Regions from separate parts of the Homo sapiens genome. Here region 1 is linked to region 2. The links are contacts of gene promoters, found by promoter capture Hi-C in blood cells and fetal thymus (Javierre and others, 2016). All regions are on one chromosome and are shown on one strand. Each heading gives the region's core, a stretch centred on a gene start or on the middle of the fragment in contact. The rest is flanking DNA. Distances are from core to core; before and after follow the strand shown.

Region 1 (4,170 bases), core at 344-2,843, 220 kb before region 2:
GTCGCCCAGGCTGGAGTGCAGTGGCGCAATCTCGGCTCACTGCAGGCTCCGCGGCACTTTTCTTTAGATAATTTTAGAGTATCTTACCAAACACAAATGAATTTAAATTTAAAATTTTTAAAAAGCATTATCCCACTATTCCCCACTTTACAAAGCTAAAAAAAAAAAAAAAGGGGGATGATTATCAAAAGTGAAGCTGAGTGTGATAACTCTTAATCCCTACCTCATACCCTAGATGTCATATTTATAGTTTAGGGGATAGGGAAAATATCATAGACATAAAATAAAAAGAACAGGTACTTACAGCCTGGGCTTGTTGTTGGAATAATTCGTTCTGATTCTCTTCATCCTCTATTCCATCCCCAGGCATCAGGGAAGGAGGTAACCTAGAACTTCCAATAGCAACATTCAAATTGTTTGGAAAAACACTTGTCCTTTTGGAAGTTAAGTGTGTTGCTGAAGACTGCATGGCTATGGAGCCTTCTTTTTGTGCCTACACGAAAGAAGAAAGGGGGATAGTAACATTCTACCCCAATCCAGAGCAATCAAATAATGCCTCTAAAGCAGTTCAGAAGATTTTAAATTGGGGTGGGGGGCAGGGGAGAGGCTTTAGCTGGCAGAGAAACTAACATTTACCAGGCACCTCCCATGTGCTAATAATTTAGGTTATCTCATCTAACTCTCACACAATCCTATGAGAGAAGTATCATATCCTTATTTTATGGATGAAGAAACTACAATCAGTGAAGTTAAGTAATTAGCCAAAAGTCAATAGCTAGAAGTAGCAAAGCCAAAATTCAAACTCAAGTCTGAACCCAAAATTCTGACATTGCTTTTAACTACTTGGTAAAAGCAAAAAATTGAGTCAGAACACAGGAATAAAACATGGTTTCTCTACAAAAAAAATTTACTGTCTTCACTAGTTAATTAGATTATATTAGGCATGTAATCAAAGGAAAGCAATTCTGTTACTGCCTAATAGCTTATCTCATAACACACATATTTTCCATTCAATCTTTACTCAGGCTCACTTTTGAACTTACTCTTTCATAAGACTTCTGAAGCTGTTGCTTTTTTCTCAACCTAATTTGTTGATTTACTCGGTATTTAACTTGTTTCTGAAAATGTTTCAAAGCTTCTTGTTTTTTTCTTAGCTGTTCCTTTAGTTCTTCTTCAATTAAATATGCTGATGTCTTTAAAGATGAAAGACAGAAAATGAACTTAAATGTTAGCAGTTTTGTCCATTAGGGCTGTTTTAAACACAAAACAGTCAGGATAAGGATACAATCCTGAAAAAAATAATTCCATTCTGTACAAAAAAAAATGGAATGTATGAGTATCAAATCTTAAATTTTTTATTGAATTAGAACTAACGATGTCTTCATTAAATCTTAATGAACCAAATAAAACCTAACACGTTACACATTTTCTAAAATGGAGTAAATAGTCAAGACACACCAGGTTACTTACCACTCACCAAATATGTCCTATTGTTAAAATGTCTTCATATTTGGCATTATGCTCCATTTTTAACCTGGCATGCCCTTCCTTTCATCTCCACCTAGTAAAGGCCTATTCAGTTTTCACAACCATTTAATACCCACTCCCCAGTACCTTCCACAACACTCTCTCTCTAAGCCCTCTTATGCTATAACACCTCTCATTTCACCAATGTTAACTGAGTATAGTACTTCTTGACTCCCCTACTAGATTATGAACTCTTTGAGGACAGGATATGTATTCAATTCTCCTTTATTTCCCCTACGGCATCTAGTACAGAGCCTTCACTATAAGGGTAGTCAATATATATTTATATAATTGCTCAATTCCAAAACATATTCTAAACCAGGGGTGTCCAATATTTTGGCTTCCCTGGGCCATGTTGGAAGAACTGTCACATAAAATACATTAACACTAGTAGCTGATGAGAAAAAAAAAAATCACAAAAAAACTCATAGTGTTAATTAAGAAAATTTATTAATTTACATTGGGTCGCATTCAAAGCCATCCTGGGCCACATGTGGCCCATGGCCGCATGTTGGACAAGCTTGTTCTGAACAATCTGGAACACTTTATCCCATTTGAGTTCTTGATCTGCATTTATCTCCTCTAAGTGCTTTGAATAATAATCATAGTCATCATCATAACAGCACTTATCATTATTATGGATCTATCAGGTGACAAGTATTTTAACTACTTTGTAGCACTCTATCCTCAAAACCACCTTTGGCAGTAGGTATTCTTATCCCTTATGTTACAGATGAGGAAGCTGGAGTTCAGAAAGATTAAGTAATTTTAATATAGCTAACTAGTAGCAGAATTAGAAGTTTCTGACTCCAACAATTATGTTCCTCTCTACACTGCTTTTCTCTTGACTATGTCTCTCTTTCACTAGGAATTTTCAAATTAAATAAAATCATCATCATATCTCGTACCTATTCCTTCTAACTCAGTGATTCCAACTTCTAATTCTGAAGGGTACCTCAGATCATTTTACAGGCTGTCATTAAATTCTCAAAATCAAATGCATTCAAATTTCAATTTAAGTTAAAATTTCCAAGATGTCTATCCCATAAACTACTCTAGTGGAGTGTACAAGTGTCAAAGAACAATTAGGTAAAATAATTCCAACGGAGAGATATATACGTAATGAAGCCTGAACAACTGACCCAGCTTAACTCAAGCCCCAGACAAGTTTAAGCCATTCGGCCTCTTTCTTTTACCTCCATTTTCTCTGCTCCTCTTTTACTCCACAAGATTACAAGCCAGGTCATAAAGAAACTTCCACCTCTGTTCTTAGAGTGCTCATTCTGAAGGAAGTCAGCACCATATAAAAATTCAGACTACCCTGAGATTACCATGCTGTGAGGAAGCCCAAGTTAGTCAAACAGAGAAGCCATGTGAAAAGAGAAACATATCTAACCAGCACCCAGACATTCTAGTCATCCTAGGCCAAGCGTCAGATATGTGAATAAGAAAGCCATCTTGGACATTACAGCCCAGCAGGTGCCACATTACTGGGAGAACTTGACTATTGTCTAGCTCCAGCCAATAGCCGGAAAATAGTCAAGGTGTCTCAGACATGTCCAGTTATTTGAGCCCCAGCTGAGGTCCCAGACACTATGGGGCAGAAACAAGCCATTACCACTGTACCCTGCTCAAATTCCTGTTACATAGTATTATTTGCTTTATACCACTAAGTTCTGGGGTGGTTGGTTACACAGCAAAAGGTAACCAGAACAAATTATAAAATAATGCAATCCCATATATGATGATAGAACAGCAGTGTCTTTTGATGCTAATTTATTAATAATTATTGGGGGGAGGTAGTCTAAAGCTATGACATTTTTAGGAATCCTGATGGCCCCCTGAAATTTTGGGGAGAAAAATGAGTAGAAGTTCCCCTTTAGAACAGACATGATCTAAGGGCCAAGCTTTAGAAGTAACTATTCAGCATTTATTTTGAGCTGACAGAGCTATATCCGTTAATAAGGGTGGATACCCAGACTAGATATGCTAAAGCTATAAGGAGTTCTATTAGATGCTTGATCAAACTCCCTTTGGCTGGAACTGATCAGAAATTTTTAAATCAGGAAAAGGAGATATGTTTATCCATGTTCCAAGACTTTAATATTTTGAGTTAATGTGTGTGAATACGATAGTCAATACTTCTTAACATAGAAAAAGTTTGATGGTGTCAAATTTTAGGCATGTTGACACTACTGATATTATACAGATGTAATTTGAGCAATTACAAAGAGGTGTCAACAACTTAAATACCAAAATATCTTTATACCAAATCTTACCAAGTCTTGTGGGGTGTTTCCTGCATTCATCCCTTCTCATTCCACTCCTTTTTTTTTTCCAGAGATGGGGTCTCACTCTATTGCCCAGGCTAGAGTGCAGTAGTATGATCATAGTTCACTGCAGCCTACAATTCGTGGGCTCAAGCACTTCAATCATCCTTTTTCAAGGCTGTTCTTCTCTATTTCTTACCACTAACAAAGTTTCGATGCTATACTCCATGCTTAAATTATTATAATTATATTCTAATTTATCCCCAGGATCCAATCACTCCCTATCCTTCAAAACCTTTGAAGCAATTCATCTAAAGAAAACACTGGTTGATCATGACATTCACCTGTAAATATTAAACAAAGTCAATCCCTT
Region 2 (3,817 bases), core at 1,020-3,519:
CAGCCCTCCACAGAAAGGGGAGGAAAATGCCCACCCCTAGCCCTGCCCTTCCCCAACCCTCCACACATCACTCCTTCTTCTTCCTGCCCTCCTGCACAGTCTGATAATGGTGCTCTCTCTTGCTCAGCCCTTTAGCCCTGCAGACCTAGGACAGGGCATGACTTGGGAAGGCTCCTGTGCACAGGGTGCACTGGAGGAGGTGCCCCAGGCCCTGGGCCATGGAGATAATTGTGTATCTGCTTCTCTTTTACCTTTTGGGTGGGTAGCCTCTCCTTTTTTAAGGGACACTGACTTCAACCATGTCTACTAATCCCTCAGTATGGCTCCCTGGGCACTCAAGAGCAACAGTTCCAGGCAGGGACCCCCACATCCTACTCTAATTACTACTGCAGACACAGAGGAGACCAATTCCATTCCTTCCCTGGCCTCTTGGATTCTTTGTTTACTCACCTCTTTCCAGTGACCACGTCTCCCACTTCCCCTTCCCCAGCAATACTCCCCTGTCATCCTCACCTCTCCCCTCCCCCCAGCTCATTTCCCAGAACCCACCATCCATTTATCTTCTCTACTTTATACAACACTGCTGGGAGGAAGGGCTCTTCCTCAGTGGAGCCCAGGAACCTCCATGAGGAGCCCATTTCTCCCTTCACAACCAAAAAATTGCTTCCTGTAGAATAACAAGCAGAGGGAAAAGGCTGGAAGGAGATATGTTATCGGGGTGTTCTCCAGGGGGTGGGACTGTAGGTGACTGACATGTTTGTTTTTCATACTTTTCTCTAGGTTTTACGTTTTCTATTATGAGCAGATTACTTTTATAATCAGTAAATATTTAGAGGAGAGGTTAAACCACAGCTCTTCGAAGAAGACAGGGCTATGTTTGAATCCTGCCTCCACAGTTAGGAGTCATGCTTCCTTGGAAAAATCTAACTTTCTAAACCTCAGTTGGCACATCTGTGAAATAATACCTACTTCACAGGGTTGTTGCTATGATTAAATATAAAGTGCTGGCTACAGGGCAGGCATTCACAAACTGGCAACTATTACTTAAACTAATAAGAGTTAAAATCGCAACCACCACCACTTGCCCCTAAGTGTTCTCTGCCTCTTGGTACCCAGACATGGGAAAGTCTCACCTATTATAGAACTGGGCTATCCTTCCCTTCCAAAGCCCACTTTTTTTTTCTTTACTATGCCATAAGGTGGCAAAGTCAGTAACCTCGTGTATCATTAGCTGGTTGACTGAATGACTGAAAATACAAGGACTTTGGAATAGTCTTTCTCCAAGTGCAGAGGCAAAAAATAAATAAGCAAACAAATAAATTTCATATACGTATGATCACTGTACTCTTCCAGTGAGGCAGGAGCCAGGGCCTATGCCAGGCGCTTTCATACCGAGTCACCTTTACAGCAAACCCCTCGGGCGCTGGGCACTTGCAGTACCCAGGTTTCCGCGTGGGCGCTGACAAATTGCAGACACTTCCTTTCCTCGCCAGCAGGGCTCTCTCGCGGTCACTTCACCCAGCCCCTTCCGAGCGAGAAGGCCTTGGGGGCCGGGACAACCCCTCCCCAGAACCACCCTGACTAGGCTCTTTGCAGCCAGCATCACTACCGAGCTAACCAATATGGACCAGCCTGCGCTGCACAGGGCGCTTAGGCGATCGTTGGAGGGTCATGAGGATCAGCCTGTCCGCCCACCGACGGCGGCGCAGTGGGATGGGGAACGGGGTGGGGGCCGAAAGACGGGAGGAAGGAGTCGCTGCAGTGTCTCCAGGCGATGGTTGCCAGCGTCTCACTGGGGAGGAAGTTCCTCCTGTCATCCAACCCGCAGTTCCCCTCTTGCAGAGCCCTGCCGAGCTCCCAGTCCAGCCTAGGCTGTCTAACGGATGGGCGCTCAGACGCCCCCGCGAGTTGAGGAGCATTTTTCCTAGGGCTTCCAAGTCGGGCGGGCGCCTTCCACCATCCACCACCCACGTCTCGGCAAGGACCCCTTTTCTTTCTGCTCCTAGGTCTTCCGCATCCACTTCCATCCCTCTCTCGCCCTCCAGGGCTTTCTCAGGCGCCTCTCGCAGCGGACCCCGCCAAGTGCCCCTCCCCCGGGCCCTCTAACTTACGGTGCAGCAGTCCATGCTGGTGTCGGGGGGTCCTCTGCGGGGACGAAGGCTGGCGCAGGGCGGGGGTGGGGTCTGTGTGGTGCCGGGTGGGGGCTCTGGGGCAGTCGGCCGCCAGCCGACCCGCGCCGAAACAGCAGCTCTGCTCTCGGGTCCGGTCTCCCGCGCTCGGCTCCGCTCGCGAATGTAACCTGAGCCCCGCGGCCGGGAAGCCAATCAGGAGCAGCCTCCGGCAGGGTGGGCGGGGAGAAGTGGAGGGAGGGCCACGCCCTCTCGCGGCTCTCTGCGCCGCGCTCCCGCTCCTGCCCCAGCCCCTCCGCCTACACGCTTGTATCCAAGCCTCCTACACACTCCATCCTCCCGGGCGCAATCCCCTGGCTTGCTAGGCGGCAGACTGCCAGGCAGATGTACGCCGGAGTAGGCAGAAGGAGGCCCCCGACACCCCGAGCACAAACACCCACATCTGGGCACAGCACCTACTCCCGCTCAGAGAAAACCACGCACCCCTCACCCATCCCTCCATACTTCCACAACCTAGCAGGAGTCCCAAATATGGCTCCCTTTCACTTCACTCCCCCTCAGTCCGCAAAGAAAGGCTCCCTAACGGGCGGTAAAAAGGTCTCATCATCACTCCTGCTACAGACGGAGAAACCTGTTGGTACAACCTGGCGATGGGCATGCGTCCACACAAAAGCTCACAAGCCCCACATGTCCACATATGATTTTCCCAGGCCTTCTTCCAGCATACAGACACTGCAGATACAACCTGCAAAAATAACTACGCAGCCCTTCAGTTGCAGGTAAATGCGGACACCCTGTTGCGGGCGCCCGCGCGCTCACGCACGCACACGGACAGTCACCCAACTCAAGCTGTCGGCATGACGTATCTATTATCGATCTGTCTACATGAGCTGCAACAAACAACATCATATATGCACAACACCTATTTTGTATGTATTTATATATGGGCACAGACTTGGAAGAAGTATCCTCCTCCCTTTCATACCAGACTCTGCCTAACCTTTTGATCTGCTGCCTCAGAATAAGACAAAAGCTGGCCATCCTCGCCCTTGCTCCTGAGAAGAAGAAAAATACCCTAAACCCAAGTGTAGAGAATTCGAAGTAATTGGCTCTTGGGTCCATGATGAGGCAGGATGTGGGCTTCGTGAGAGGCTGGGAAGGGGAGCTATGGAAAGAGCATCTGGGAGGGACAGACTGCCACTGTTGTGGTCGTCAGCCTCCCCCAACTCGGCAGGGTACAAAAGCTGGCAGTGTGGCTTGTTATGTGGGTAGGGTAGGCCTTCTCTGAGAAAACTAGAAAGTCTTCTCAGCTAAGGTCCCAGAGAAGGGAAGGAGGAAAGGATGGCTCCTGCTGGGAGCAAAGGTGGGAAATGCCCTGTGGCTCTGGTTGGGACAGCAGATCCTGAGACAGCTCTGCTGTGCATCCCCAGTCCCTGGCCATGACCAGGGACCACGTGGCGGTGACATGCTTCCTTTCCACCTAGATGTTTGGGCCCGAGGCTCTGCTTGCCAAAGGAAAAATGAGTGGGAGAGAAATGCCTGAGTCCATTCAGGGTGGGGATAAGGTTAGCCAGCTTGGGGTCCCAGGCTGAGCTGGATGCTGGCCGGGATTCCAGGGCTTGGGGTGTAGGGGTGTCTCTCCCAGCATGTTTGGGACCCACCCACTTTTGTAAAAAAAAATCTGTTCC

Evidence for each region. Contacts are between HindIII fragments. The CHiCAGO score rates a contact against its expected background, and 5 or more counts as called.
Region 1: a fragment that was not itself captured here is called in contact with the fragment with the promoter of NRGN in region 2 in 1 of 17 cell types (total CD4 T cells); the score reaches 5.4 in total CD4 T cells.

The regions. Positions count from the first base shown.
Region 1 is chr11:124,956,138-124,960,307 of GRCh38, reverse strand. It overlaps CCDC15 (coiled-coil domain containing 15), which reads right to left. Exons shown (of 16, transcript NM_025004.3): 3 at 1,044-1,193; 4 at 305-493. Among named protein-coding and RNA genes, the nearest start is that of CCDC15, 4.0 kb to the right of the region's middle. The HindIII fragment of the contact is 912 bases long and covers 1,138-2,049 here.
Region 2 is chr11:124,738,394-124,742,210 of GRCh38, reverse strand. It overlaps NRGN (neurogranin), which reads right to left and starts at 2,269. Exons shown (of 4, transcript NM_006176.3): 1 at 2,112-2,269. The coding sequence starts at 2,126. RefSeq lists silencers at 2,131-2,450, 2,511-2,570. The HindIII fragment of the contact is 6,441 bases long and covers 1-3,817 here.